Regions from separate parts of the Homo sapiens genome. Here all the other regions are linked to region 2. The links are contacts of gene promoters, found by promoter capture Hi-C in human tissues and cell types (Jung and others, 2019). All regions are on one chromosome and are shown on one strand. The core of a region is centred on a gene start or on the middle of the fragment in contact, and the rest is flanking DNA. Distances in the headings are between cores, read along the strand shown.

Region 1 (2,700 bases), core at 92-2,591, 530 kb before region 2:
GACAGCTACTTAACAGTCACCCACAAGCATGGTGCACATGGCTCAACATTAAGACTCAAAACAACACTGCTGCACCCGCTGGAAAACTTCATGGCGAGGTTAGGCATAAAGAAGTAGAACTGGGCCTTTTTCCTCTTGCCAGGTGTGCCACAAGCTCACTCATTACAAATTTAATAATGTGTACAGATTAAGTTGGGATAAAAACCAACAACTCAACTGTGAAACAATTCATAAAATAAATCAGCTCCAGTAATGACTGAACTGGGGTTTTCTAGTTGTTGGGTTACAATTTGTTTACCAGTTTGCTACCAGATTAACAATTATGACTTGAGTTATAAGGGAAATTCAGTTAAATCTTGAAGTGCTGTCTAAAGAATTAAATCACCTTCTTTCGATGCACCTCAGGGAAACTCAGATTGAACTGGATTATGTATTAATTCAACTTTCAGAGGAAGGTGATATACTATCCCCATTTCCCAGATGTAGAAACTGAGGCTCACACTCACATAGCTGGTAAGTGGCAGAGCTGCGATTCAAGCTGAGTTCCTCTGACTCAAGCCCAGAGTCTTTATCAACTTTACATATTCTGGCAGAACTATAGTGGCTGTATATCTTCATATATAGCCTGTGTGTGTGTGTGTGTGTGTGTGTGTGTGTGTGTCCCTTTTGTAAAAAAGAGAAAGATTTGGTGTGTATTTTTTAAACCAGACAATCCCTTAAACCCCAACTATACTTGGTTAGGTACATGTTAGTAGTCATCACGTATTTTATTTCATGCCAAGGTGAGTCTCCATGTTCAAATCAGAGCCCATGCTTTGAGCTAGGACTAAATTATATTAGGAAGTAGGTGGGGTGTGGTAGTTCATGACTATAATCCCAGTAATTTGGGAGACCGAGGCAGGCAGATCACCTGAAGTCAGGAGTTCGAGACCAGCCTGGCCAACAGGGCAAAACCCCATCTTTACTAAAAATACAAAAATTAGCCGGACGTGGTGGCATGTGCCTGTAATCCCAGCTACTCGGGAGGCTGGGGCAGGAGAATCACTTGAACCCAGGAGGCAGAGGTTGCAGTGAACCAAGATCACACCACTGTCCTCCAGCCTGGTCAACAGAGTGAGATTTTGTTTAAAAAAAAAAGAAAAATTATATTAGGAAGCTTGAAATATTGTAAGGAAAGCTAAGTACATATTTTAAGCTCTATACTGGATAGTAAAATAAAACTAGATAGAAGCTATATTTTCGAGACTATGTGAAAAGAACTAAATTGGATGGATAGTAATGAAAATACTAACGCCTTCAACTGTTTAGAGAATCAAGCAATCAACATGGGATGGAAAAGCTGAGATATAAAACTTGAGTGGACCTCGAAGAATAAATCAAAGAGGCAGAGCAACAGAGAGTTATTTAGAGCTGATTGTTCCTGGCCTGTGCTGGCTCCATGGCCAGTGTACCCATCTGGCTGCCACCTGCCTCCCTCTTCTGCTCTCTCACTACGTCTAGCTCCTTCCTACACTGAAGGCCAACAAACACTGATGTGAGTAGGGAACAAGCCTGGGCAGCATGAAAATACCTAAACACCTTTTCCTAATCCTGTCTAATTCAATGGAATTAACTTTTGATTTTAGAAAGAAAGATTCAAGTGTGTAAAGTGCTCTGCTGAAAACCAGAACAGACTTTCGTTTCAAGATGACCACCTGAATATCCTTGCCGAAATGCTTGCCTCCACACTTACAAATGATTACTGAGATGACAAAAGTGATGCAAATAATAGAAGATCATCTGCTCCTTTTTTAAAAAATAATTATTATTATTATTATTTTGAGACAGAGTCTCACTCTGTCGCCCAGGCTGGAGTGCAGTGGCACGACCCCTGCTCACTGTAAGCTCCGCCTCCTGGGTTCACGCCATTCTCCTGCCTCAGCTTCCCAAGTAGGTGGGACTACAGGCACGTGCCACCATGCCCAGCTAATTTTTTGTGTTTTTAGTAGAGACGGGGTTTCACCATGTTAGCCAGGATGGTCTCAATCTCCTGCCCTCGTGATCCGCCCACCTCAGCCTCCCAAATCCTCAGCCTGGGATTACAGGCGTGAGCCACTGCGCCTGGCCTTGCTCCCTTTTTGAATTCCATATGTCAGAAGTTTGAACTGGAGGAAGACTTCCCAAGCATAGCACCAATGGAAAATATATATGTAAACAAAATATTAGTAGATGTGACTTCTGTGCATAAAAATATAAACTCTCTGGACATAAAAATAAACTAAGTTATGAACAAGATTGAAGACAAAGTACTAATGACAATACTCACAGCAGAAGTGATAGAATAAGAGGAATACATATAGGGCTTTTACAAATCAATAAGAAAATATGAATGCCCCATTATAACAATTAGACAAGGCAAAATGTATTTTAAAATGTTAAACCTCATTAATAATCAAAGAAATTATTATGAAAACAGTGATATGCTTTTTTTTACCTGCCATACTGGCATTTTAAAAAATTTACTCAAGAGTGTTATATTGCTGTGGGAAGTGTAAATAGTTACCATCTTTCTGAAGAAATGCTTGGAAATAATGAACAAACATTTTTGCATGCCATTTGACCTAGAAATTTTATTTTTATGAGCCTATTATAAAGAAATAGCCAGGAATGTATGCAAAAGCATACTCCAATAATAGTCAACACTTTTTATAATACTGCAAA
Region 2 (2,700 bases), core at 52-2,551:
CCTTTAAAATTGGATTCTCTGTTCTTACCACAACACAGAGGAGGCTCTGTCCCAGGGAGATTTCTACTCTGCTCAACAATTGATAATTGTAAAATACTTGGCTATGCCTCATGCTGCTCCAACATATTATCAGCTCTATCCTGGTTAGAAAAATAAAAATCTAACGGCGGCGGCAGCCGCCTGACAATGGGCTCAAGGCACATCGGAGACTTTGCCTTCTTCACTGCGGGTGGGGCTGGGGACGGTGGGTTTGGCGGGGGAGGGGAGGAGCCGGGCTGGGGCCTGGGAAGGCAGAGAGTGAGTTCCACCAGCAAGATCTGATTGTGGCCCGGGAGAGAATTCAATCACTCGGTTTACTCCAGAACGAAATGAACAGGGAATTGGGTTAAGCAGCCCAAAGTCTACCAGAGTTAGAATACTCGAACGCCTTTAGGGGACAAGCAGGTTAAAAAAAGGAGGGGGGTGGGGAGAAAGGCTTTAGGAAAGGGTAGGTTCTATGGGGGACAAGGAGGGGAAAGCTGGACTGAAGGTTTTCAAATTTACATTTCTGAAAAGCAGTGTTCCTAAGTGCTGGCTAAAGCAAACACTGGTGTAAGGCGTAGGGGGGCACGCACACGCGGACCTTTAAGTTTGCAATCCCTTTCAGCTAACGTGATCCACTGCATATGCAAAACCTGTCATCGGTTCATTCCCGTTCATCACTCATTCACACTATGTCCATTCATGCATCCGCTCCACACTGCCCGGGCTCGCCGCACAGCTGCGCGAGGCGAAGGCAGAGATCAGAGCTTTTTCTTTTTCGCCCCGCCCCAGCCCCCGGACCGGCCCAGGAGATGGCACAGCCCGGGCGTCTGCAGGTGCGTGGCACCGGCGGGACAGCAGGCCCCGGCCAGCTGAGTCGTGCACTGCCTCGCACCAGCAGTCAGGGCCAGGGGCAGCTGCACGGGCACGCCTCGCCGAGCTTCCTCACCAACTGCATTCTTCCCGAAGCCCGCTTGCCGGAGCTGCTGATCCCGCTGTGCACGCTGATGCAAAGCGCCTAGGGGACTCAAGGCAGGGAGCGGGAATCCGACTGCCACACGCAGGGATGCAAACCCACCCGCGTGCGTGCTCCCGCCTGAACCTCACTCCCGGCGCCCGCTCGCGGGGACTTACTGAGTGCGGCAGCTTGGCGGGACCAGGCCCAAAGTTGACCACCTGCCTGGGGGCGTCCATGGTGCGGCGGCCAGGGCGGTGAGTCAGCCAAGGAGGACCGAACGCGTGAACGGCTGGCGTTCCTGGCCGCTGCGGTGAGAGTCTGCAGCCGGCCCCGAACCCCCGCCTTGTTCCTGCGCCGAGTCGGCGCCCCATTGGCCCGTGCTGTCGCAGGCCCTGCGCTAATTGGTTCGCGCGAAGGAGCTCACATCCCCATTGGTCGCGCTTCTGAGCCGAGTCGAAGCAGTTGCTCCTCCTCGCGTTTACTGTTTCAACCCCCATTTTTGATCAATGCAAGGAGCGCGCGAGATTGCGCCAGCCAGCCGAGCCGGCTCGGCTGCGCGCCCGCCCGAGGATTGTGGGCGGCGGGAAGAGGCTGCCCCTGCCAACCTGCCTTCGCCCCTTGAGCCCGCAATCTGGCCGGTTCCAGTCCTCCAACCCCAGAGGACCTCAGCTCCTCTCTCTTGGCTGAAAGGGCAGTTGCCGAGCAGATTTGTAGCCCCCATCCACCCACCTCTCCACCACCAGCCCCCAGTTTGGGCTGTGATGTATTTGTTCCAGAACCACCAGTCACTAATCTACCAAACTTTTCTAAGCACCCCCCACGGGCGTCAGATACCCCAGTGGAGAGAGAGGACCCCCCCAAGGTTGGAAGCGCAGGATGAAGAAGGGCCGGGGGTGGGTGGATACGGTTCTTTGTATTTGCACGTGGGTCCTGAGTTCCTGCAGGATTAAAGAACGGAGGTGGCCAAGGACGCAGGGAGGAGCGATAGCCTGGGAAGCGTGGATGCCCGCCAGGCAAGTCCTTTAAAGTCGCTGATTCTCCATTTCCTCCTTTGGGAAACGAGTGAGCTGGAAACCTGCGACAGCTCTCAGGTTGCGCCCGCGCTGACAAGCTGTGAGTTTAGAAACGTGAGGAGATATTAACAAGAACGCGATACCCATAGGGCGCTGCAGCCCAAACCAGAAGAAGGTGGCCCCTAGCCAGGCCAGGCGCAGGGCCAGAGCTGCTCAAACTTTTCCACAGAAGTGTCCTTCTCAAAAGAACTCCAGTGGAGACCCGCATGGGGTTCTGAAACAGAATACCCTCCCCCTACCCTGCAAGAAAGAAGTTCCTTTGAAGTCTGGAATTTCATCATTTTTAAACTGTGAATTTTGCATTCTCTACCATAATTTAACCTAGTTTCTTTTAATGTAAAAATATTTTCCCTGTCTGAGTAAAATTGATGCGCCAGGAATATATACAGTCCAACTGCCCCGTTTAGAGAAGGCTTGTAACTGGACAGGACTTTGGCTTTTGTTTGCTTTTCCTAATGAGAATGTGGGCGGTATGGGGCTGAGAGCAGAGGCACTGCTCTGGATCTGGGAATTGGAGGACAAAGTTTCCAGAAAAAGGCAAAATGAACAAGGCCCCTGCGTTCCTCAGCAACTTCATTAAGAAAACCGCGACATTCAAGACAGAATAAATCTCAGCCCAGAAACTCAGGCATGCAAGAAGCATCACAT
Region 3 (2,700 bases), core at 42-2,541, 640 kb before region 2:
TTTAAAGCATCTCTGTCTATATTTTATTTACATTTGTTCAGCAATATTGATGCTTAATGAATAAATGCACTAAACTGTCAGTACTGGAGACTAATTAAATCTATGTATGAGCCTGAGAAGCTGATTGAAAAATTTGCAAGTAACTAAACTGGGTTTAAATAAACACTTTAGTGTAGTGCTTTAATTACACTTTAGTTTGTAATGTAATTTTTGGCTGTTTAAACTATGATTTAGGCTGAGCTAATTACAAATGATTTTCTACTCTGTAATTAATAATAACAAAATTGTAATTAGACAGCTGCTCTGGATCAGGACGACAGTTTGTATGTGCTGGCTCAGGATGATGGGTCTGGCAGAGGCACAAGAAGAGCACTTGGGGATTGCAGCAGCCAGCCCCTCTCCAAGGTTCATTATTGAAGAACAAGGCCAGAGCATCTAGGTGAGTTTTACAATCCCAGCTGATGCTAGGGAAAAGGGTTTTTTATTTGTTATACACTAAATGTCCCCAGACGTTCTCAGTCCTCTGAAAAAGCACTGATGATACCAAATTTCCTTTCATTCCTAACTGTAGCTTCCAACTCACTCACTTTGCCTTTTTGTCAGAGATTAAATCAACTGGTATTAGTGTGTCCACTAATAAGTCAATTCATCATCATCATCATGGTAATGATGATCATACCTTCGATTTTTTTTATCTGGTTATGTTTGCTGCATAACACATCATCCCAAATTATAGGTCATAAAACAGCTATTTCATTATGGTGTAAGACTCTATGGGTCAAGAACTTGGACTGGGTGCAGTGGGTGTGGTTTGTCTTTGCTTCATGAAGTCTGGAGCCTCAGCTGAGAAGGCAAGAATGACTGATGACACTGGTATCATCTAGAGGCATTTTTAGTCAGCACTTCTACCCTGACTGTCCACGCGGCCAGTGATTCCTCGAAGTGTGGCAACCTGGGGTAGTTGAACTTAGTTCATGGGAGCTCAGGGACCTCATGAGTGAATTCTAGAAAACAACGTGGAGTCTGTATTGCCTCTCATGACCTAGCCTTGAAAGTCACATAGCATCACATCCGCCATACTTTGTTGTTTGTATCAACAAGTCCATCCAGATTCTAGGGGTGACATAGCAAGACGGGTGACTAGCAAGGTGCTGTAGGCTGAATGCTTGTGTCCCCCCAGAGTTCCTGTGTTAAATGCTAATGCCCAATAGGATGGTGTTATGAGATCGGGTTTTGGGAGGTGATTAGGTCATGAGGGTGGAACCCTTGTAAGTGGAATTGGTGCCCTTAGAGACTTAAGAAAGCTTCCTTGCCTCTTCCATTATGTGAGGACACAGGAAGAAGACGGTTATCTACAAACCAGGAAGTGAACCCTCACCAGACACCTAATGTATCAATACCTTGATCTTGTGCTTCTCAGCCTCCAGAACTGTGAGAGATAAACACAGGTTGTTTATAAGCCCCCCTCCTCCCAGTCCCAGTTTATGATAGTTTGTTATAGCAGCCTGAACAGAGTAAGACACAAGGTCACACTGCCAAAGGTCACGTGGGATGAAGATGCTGCAGCCATCTTTGGAAAATGCCACCTGCCACAGATTTGCAGATTTTATAGTTTTTGAAGTGCGTTTGTTACGTAACTGGATATTTAAAACCACATTGATATAGGCAGGACAGTAAATACCACCTTCATTTCACAAATTGTGTTCTGTGAAAGATAAATAATTAGGCCTTTGGTATGTGGCAAAGGTGGATAAGACCTAAGATTCAAACACTTTATATGTCCAACTGCTAACGAGAATTATGTAAAAAGAAAGACCTGGTTCTTTGTCTCTTATCATAGACTTAATTCTGAATAGCTTACTTCAGCCCATTTATCTCATTTGAAGCATTTCTGCTTCCAGATCGTCACCTTGTTTCTTTGTTGTTCACTGCTCCATTTTTGTCCTCTGTCACCCTTTCTGATTGTAACTCATGACATTTTAAAAAGAACATCATGTTTGTCATTCACATAATGTTCTTGTTCAAATGTCAGTTGAGGTGACCAAAGTTAATTTAACAAGTAATCCTTGGAAAATTCATTCTAGGAACTGGGTGCAGTGATAGTCTTACATACAGAAAAAACTAGAACAAAATTTCTAAACCTCTCTGCCTAGCACCCCCAACTCTCTCTGACACACATACACTCTGACACTCACAAAGACAAAGAACTTGCACAGGGGACACCTGAAGTTCTCCAAACAGGGGATGAAGCTCATCATCATGTTATGTTGTAGAGCAAAACTGAGGTCATGTAAGAAACCTATCCCTTGTCTTGTAAATTTCACCAGTAACATCAGAAAATTGTAAACAATTGAAGGCCATATATAATTAAGTGTCAAAATATGCAGGGAAAATGGCTATGTAAATTCAGGTAGACAGATATCAATAGGAGAGGAAAATGGACAGGTGTCATGAAGGAGTTAGATCAGATTTGCATCTTACTCTGCTTTAACTGAATATGGGAGATTACAGAGGAAAACACTTTTTATGGGTAAGAGACCAGCATCAGTAAGAACACAAAGCAGAGAGTAAGCATGGCACATGGAGATGAATGTTTTAACAATGTTTATAATGGCAAAAAAACTGGGAAAACAGCCCAAATGTTCAACCATGAGGAATTGTTTAAACAAATTAATGTGTATCTATTTAATACAATATTTT

The links. The method cuts DNA at HindIII sites, captures the fragments that hold promoters and counts their contacts. A contact is called where the count stands out against the background at its distance.
Region 1: a fragment that was not itself captured here is called in contact with the fragment with the promoter of PSAT1 in region 2 in 1 of the 25 tissues and cell types used here (psoas muscle).
Region 3: a contact is called between a fragment that was not itself captured here and the fragment with the promoter of PSAT1 in region 2, in 1 of the 25 tissues and cell types used here (stomach).

What each region holds. Positions count from the first base shown.
Region 1 is chr9:78,825,495-78,828,194 of GRCh38, reverse strand. No RefSeq gene overlaps it. Among named protein-coding and RNA genes, the nearest start is that of PSAT1, 530 kb to the right of the region's middle. The HindIII fragment of the contact is 3,859 bases long and covers 1-2,700 here.
Region 2 is chr9:78,295,726-78,298,425 of GRCh38, reverse strand. PSAT1 (phosphoserine aminotransferase 1) reads right to left here and starts at 1,301. Exons shown (of 9, transcript NM_058179.4): 1 at 1,156-1,301. The coding sequence starts at 1,215. RefSeq lists a silencer at 696-935 and enhancers at 888-1,471, 1,472-2,055, 1,946-2,215. The HindIII fragment of the contact is 7,295 bases long and covers 1-2,700 here.
Region 3 is chr9:78,937,134-78,939,833 of GRCh38, reverse strand. No RefSeq gene overlaps it. Among named protein-coding and RNA genes, the nearest start is that of LNCARSR, 630 kb to the left of the region's middle. The HindIII fragment of the contact is 3,926 bases long and covers 1-2,700 here.